2 separate regions of the Homo sapiens genome follow, and region 2 is linked to region 1. The links are contacts of gene promoters, found by promoter capture Hi-C in human tissues and cell types (Jung and others, 2019). All regions are on one chromosome and are shown on one strand. Each heading gives the region's core, a stretch centred on a gene start or on the middle of the fragment in contact. The rest is flanking DNA. Distances are from core to core; before and after follow the strand shown. Region 1 holds the start of GALNT15 (polypeptide N-acetylgalactosaminyltransferase 15). Region 2 has its middle 43 kb from the start of TBC1D5.

Region 1 (3,162 bases), core at 475-2,974:
GCAAGTTCATTGCAGGACTTCCCCAATGGCAGTTTTCCCCCCTCCACTCTTGGTTGCAGACAGCATGGCTGCTTTACAGCCATCAGAAGAAACACTGCTCATGGTGATGGTCAGCTATCCTTCAACCTGTTCAAGCCAGAAGCCTGAAAACTGAGCATGCTGGATTCTCTTCTCCCTTCTACCTACCTCACTCCCTCAGTGATCTCAGGTCTCACGGCTTCAAACACTATCTGAGTGCTGCTGGAGTCCAGCTTTGTATATGCAGGCCAGACCTCCCCCTGACCTTCAGCTATCCTACAACTGCTGCCTTCACTTCATCTCCTCTTAGCTGTCTAGAGGACATCTCGAATGTCACATGTTCCAAATCAAGCCACTGGCATGCATTCATCTCCTTCCACCTTCTCTCCTTCCCCATCTTGGTTAATGGCAAGTCTATTCTTCCAACTACTCAGAACAAAAATTTGAACTCATCTTGACTCTTCTCTTCCTCTCACATTAGTCATTAATTCATCAGCAAATCCTATAGGTTCTTCCTTAAAGTATATCCACAAGCTGACCCCTGTCACCACCGATGCCACTTAGTGCAAGCCAAGAACCTCTTGGTTGGTCTCCCTGCTCCTGCTTTTTGCCCCCCACTGATTAGTCTCAACCCAGCAGCCAGAATGATCCAGTTAAAACCCAAGTCAGATTGTGTCTCTCCTCTAAGGGCTCCCCTCTCACTCAGAGGAAAAGCCAAAGTTCCTTCAATGCAACCAGGGGGTGTCCTGCATGGTCCTCCTGCCCCCCGCCCCCTTGCCTCTCTTATTCCACTTCCCATCAGGCTCCACCCTGCTCTCTTTGCTTCAGCCATGCCGGCTGTTCCTCAGACATGCCAGCATACTCTTGCCTTGGAACCTTCACATTTATCATTCTGTCTGCCCCGAACACTCAACCTCAAATAGCTGTGCAGCCCTCTCCTTTACACAAATGGTAACTCTTCCATGAAACCTTTCTCCACCACTCAATGTCCATTTCCAAGCCCAGCCCATGCTCCCCAGCCCCATCCCTGCTCTGCTTTTTTGCCTTCATCCTCATCACTATCTGACCCAGTGGATAGTTTTAATTGTATCTGTCACTAGAATGCAAGCTCCATGAGACACACATTTTTGTCTGTGTTATTCATTGCTCTACTTCCAGTTCCCAGAACAATTTTGGCACATAGCATGTGTTCATTAATTATGTGTTGGTTAAATGAAGGAAGCTTTATGAGGGAAAGAGCATGCCACTCCTCTTCCAGCGTCCCCCTTGGTGGCCAGGGCAGAGCAGGCATTCAGCTGCTCTTGTGGGAGAAGAAGGGACTTGCAAGATCATCTCCCTTAGCTCCCTCATTTTCAGGAGGCCAGGGACAGTGGTCCCCAGGAAGGGAAGGAGAGTCCAACCTAGTTTGCCTGATCCCCCATGGGAGGCTGAGGTTGCAAACAGACAGCTGCAGCTCCTTGCAGCTATGCCACACACACAGCCTTTCTGAATCAGAGGGTATTAGTCTTTCCTTCTGAACTCTTGGGATATTCCTGTTTTGATTTGGCTCTAGCAGTGACCACACCGAGTTGTGCAAAGCCTGGGAACAGTGAGGGCATTAGGACCAGGAGTGACGCGCACGCTTGGCTCTGGGTTGTGTCTGGCAGAGGGCTCTCGGCTGAGTGGAGCTATGTGTGAAAGGAAACCAGGCACTGCCTGCCGGCTTTACATCTGTTGATCTGACCTGACTGGAAGCGTCCAAAGAGGGACGGCTGTCAGCCCTGCTTGACTGAGAACCCACCAGCTCATCCCAGACACCTCATAGCAACCTATTTATACAAAGGGGGAAAGAAACACCTGAGCAGAATGGAATCATTATTTTTTTCCCAAGGAGAAAACCGGGGTAAAGGGAGGGAAGCAATTCAATTTGAAGTCCCTGTGAATGGGCTTTCAGAAGGCAATTAAAGAAATCCACTCAGAGAGGACTTGGGGTGAAACTTGGGTCCTGTGGTTTTCTGATTGTAAGTGGAAGCAGGTCTTGCACACGCTGTTGGCAAATGTCAGGACCAGGTTAAGTGACTGGCAGAAAAACTTCCAGGTGGAACAAGCAACCCAGGTTCTGCTGCAAGCTTGAAGGAGCCTGGAGCGGGAGAAAGCTAACTTGAACATGACCTGTTGCATTTGGCAAGTTCTAGCAACATGCTCCTAAGGAAGCGATACAGGCACAGACCATGCAGACTCCAGTTCCTCCTGCTGCTCCTGATGCTGGGATGCGTCCTGATGATGGTGGCGATGTTGCACCCTCCCCACCACACCCTGCACCAGACTGTCACAGCCCAAGCCAGCAAGCACAGCCCTGAAGCCAGGTACCGCCTGGACTTTGGGGAATCCCAGGATTGGGTACTGGAAGCTGAGGATGAGGGTGAAGAGTACAGCCCTCTGGAGGGCCTGCCACCCTTTATCTCACTGCGGGAGGATCAGCTGCTGGTGGCCGTGGCCTTACCCCAGGCCAGAAGGAACCAGAGCCAGGGCAGGAGAGGTGGGAGCTACCGCCTCATCAAGCAGCCAAGGAGGCAGGATAAGGAAGCCCCAAAGAGGGACTGGGGGGCTGATGAGGACGGGGAGGTGTCTGAAGAAGAGGAGTTGACCCCGTTCAGCCTGGACCCACGTGGCCTCCAGGAGGCACTCAGTGCCCGCATCCCCCTCCAGAGGGCTCTGCCCGAGGTGCGGCACCCACTGTAAGTAAGGCCCTTGTTTTCCCTTCCCTGATCCCAGGGCATGATCGGGTGGTAGCAAACTCGGGAATGCAAACTTTCCGTAGCCTGCCTCTCCTGACTTAGAGCAAGTGCTTTTCAAGATGCAGTACCTGGGCCAGCAGCGTCAGCAGCCCCTGGGCACTGGTGGGTTCTCAGAAATGCAGATTCTCAGACCCCATCCCAGACCTGCCAAACAAGAAACTCTGGGTGGGGTCCAGTGGTCTGTATGAACAAGCCCTTCAGGTGAGAATCATTGTCCTAGAAAGCAGAAAGTGAGGACTCTTGCTTGTTCATTCTCTTCTCCGTCCTGGGTTCTAGTTCTTCTGTCTTTAGGTCAAATGGCTTTATTTCTATAACACAGAAGGGAGGTTAGAGCAGACATTTGCCAGTTCTAACACTCTGACTCCAC
Region 2 (3,162 bases), core at 244-2,743, 1.6 Mb after region 1:
TAACTATAATCACTCTGCTGATCTCCAGAACTTATTTATCCTGCATCACTGAAACTTTATGCCCTTTGACCAACATCTCCCCATATCCCCAACCCTTTCAGCCCCTGGAAATTATCATTCGTTGCTCCTGTGAGGTCAACTTTTTAAGATTCCACACGTAAGTGAGATCATGCAGTATTTGTCTTTTGGTGCATGGCTTATTTCACTTAGCCTAATGTCCTCCAGTTTACCAGGTTGTCATGAATGACAGGATTTCCTTCTTATTTTAAGGCTGAATAATATGCCACTGTAAATATATACTGCATTTTCTTTTTCCACTTATTGGTCAATGGTAGATTCTATATCTCAGCTATTGTGAATAAGGCTACTATGAACATGAAAGTGCAGATATCTGCATCCTGGCTAAGACGGTGAAACCCTGTCTCTACTAAAAATACAAAAAAATTAGCCGGGCATGGTGGTGGGCCCCTGTAGTCCCAGCTACTCCAGAGGCTGAGGCAGGAAAATGGCGTGACCCCGGGAGGTGGAGCTTGCAGTGAGCCGAGATGGCACCACTGCATTCCAGCCTGGGCAACAGAGCAAGACTCCATCTCAAAAAAAAAAAAAAAAAAAGTGCAGATATCTATCTCTTTGAGATACTGATTTCATTTCCTTTGTATGTACAGCCAGAAGTAGGATTTCTAGATCATATGGTAGTTCTACTTTTAATTTTTTAGGATTCTCCAAACTGTTTTCCTTAATGACTGAATAAATTTACATTCTCAGCAACATTGTGGAAGGGTTCCCTTTTCTCCATATCCTCTCCAATATTTGTTATCTTTTGTTTTTTGATGATAGCCATTCTAACAGGTATGAGATGATATTTCATCCTGGTTTTGATTTGCATTTCACTGATGATTAGTGATACTGAACATATTTTCATATATCTCTTGACCATTCTTATGTCTTCTTTTGAGATGTATCTATTCAAAACCGTCGCCTGTTTAAAAAATCTGGTTATTTGTTTTCTTGCTATTGAGTTGAGTTCTTTATATATTTCAGATATTAACCCCATATCAGATATATGATTTGCAAATATTTTTCCCATTCTATAGGTGGTCTCTTTGCTATTGTTTGCTTTGCTATGCAGAAGGTTTTTAGTTGGATGCAATACCATTTGTTATTTTTGCTGTTGTTGCCTGTGCTTTTGGGGTCATAGCCAAAAGATTATTGCCCAGACCAATGTCAAGAAGCTTATTTCAAATGTATTTCTTTAGTAGATTTTCTGTTTCAGATTTTAAGTTTTTAATCCATATCAAGTTGAGTTTTTAATTTAGTGTAAAATAAGGGTTCAATTACATTATTCTATGTGTAGATATCTAGTTTTCCAAACATAATTTTAAAAATTATTTTTTATAGACAGTCTTGTTCTTTCACCCAGGCTGGAGTATAGGGGCATGCTCATGGCTCGCTGCAGCCCCAAACTCCTAGGTTTGAACAATCCTCCTGCCTCAACCTTCCAAAGTGCTGGGATAACCAGTGTCAGCCACCAGGCCTGACCCCAGAACCATTTATTAAAGAGATTGTCTTTTCCCCATTGTGTGTTCTTGACACCTTTGTCAAAGACCAATCTAAGTGTGTGGCTTTATTTCTGGGCTCTCTACTCTGTTCCATTGGTCTGTATGTCTGTTTATATGCCAGTAGCATGATGTTGGGTTACTATAGCTTTGTAACATATTTTGAAATCAGGTAGTGTGATGCCTCCAGCTTTGTTCTTGGTCAAGATTGCTTTGTCTATTCAGACTCTTTTGTAGTTCCATATACATTTTAAGATTAAAAAAAAATTTCTGTGAAAAATGCCATTGGAATTTTAATAGGGGTTGCATTTAATCTGTAGGTTGCTTTTGGTCATATAGACATTTTAACAATATTAAATTCTTCCAATTCATGAATGCAAGATATCTTCACATTTATTTGTGTCTTCAATTTCTTTAACAAATCTTTTATAGTTTTCAGTGTATACACTTTCACCTCCTTGGTTAATTTTATGCCTAAGTATTTTATTTATTTATTTTTTTGGGTGCTATTGTAAGTGGCATTGTTTTCTTAATTTCTTTCTTTTTTTTTTTTTTTTTTTTTTTTGGTTAGAGGCAAGGTCTGTTTATATTGCTCAGGCTGGTCTCAAACTCTTGGGTTCAAACAATCCTCCCGCATTGTCCTCTCAAAACACTGAGATTACAGGCATGAGCCACCATACCTGGCCTGTTAAAAGTTTTATGAAAAGATATTGAATTTACTAATGCTTTTTCTGCATCTGTTGTGATGATCGTATGATTTTGTCCTTCATTCTGTTAATGTGGTATATCACACTTATTCATGTGCGTATGTACTATGATCTAAATGTGTCCCTGAAAATGCGAATATTGGAAACTTAATCCCCAGTGCACCAGTGCTGGGAGGTGGGGCCTTTGGAGAGGAGTTTGGGTTAGGAGAATGGGGTTATAAAAGGACTTGACAGAGGGAATTCATCCCTTTTGTCCTTCTGCCTTCCTCCACATGAGGACTCAGCTTTCTTCCCCCCAGAGTATACGGTAAGAAGGCCCTTATCAGAAACCAGAGGCTGGCACTTTGAGCTTGGACTTTTCAGCCTCCAGAACTGTGAAAAATAAATTCACATTCTTTATAAATTACCTGATCTCAGGTATTCTGTTATAGAGGCACAGACAAAGACAGTATGTTGACTCATCCCTGCATCCCAAGGATAAATGCCATGTAATCAGTATATGAACTTTTTTAATGTGGTGTTGAATTGAGTTTGCTAGTCTTTTTTTGAGCATTTTTACGTCTATTTTCATCAGGAATATTGGTGTGTAATTTTTTTTTTTCTTGTAGTATCCTTGTCTGGCTTCGGTGTCAGGATAATGTTAGCTTCATAAAATGAACTTGGAAGTATTCCCTCATCTTAAATTTTTTGGCAGAGTTTGAGAAGTTTTAGCATTAACGTTTCCGTTTTAAAATATATTTTCAACTTTTATTTTAGATTCAGGAGGTACATGTGCAGGTTTTTTACATGGATATATTGGGTGACGCTGACATTTGGGGTATGAATGATCCCATCGGCCAGCTGGTGGGCATAGTACCCAAGAGATGTTTTTCAGCCCTTGTCCCACTTCCCTCTCTTCC

The links. Contacts are between HindIII fragments. The study calls those that stand out against the background at their distance.
Region 2: a contact is called between a fragment that was not itself captured here and the fragment with the promoter of GALNT15 in region 1, in 1 of the 25 tissues and cell types used here (H1 embryonic stem cells).

Annotation. Positions count from the first base shown.
Region 1 is chr3:16,172,956-16,176,117 of GRCh38, forward strand. GALNT15 (polypeptide N-acetylgalactosaminyltransferase 15) reads left to right here and starts at 1,725. Exons shown (of 10, transcript NM_054110.5): 1 at 1,725-2,735. The coding sequence starts at 2,197. The HindIII fragment of the contact is 4,561 bases long and covers 1-2,700 here.
Region 2 is chr3:17,784,153-17,787,314 of GRCh38, forward strand. No RefSeq gene overlaps it. Among named protein-coding and RNA genes, the nearest start is that of TBC1D5, 43 kb to the left of the region's middle. The HindIII fragment of the contact is 3,894 bases long and covers 1-3,162 here.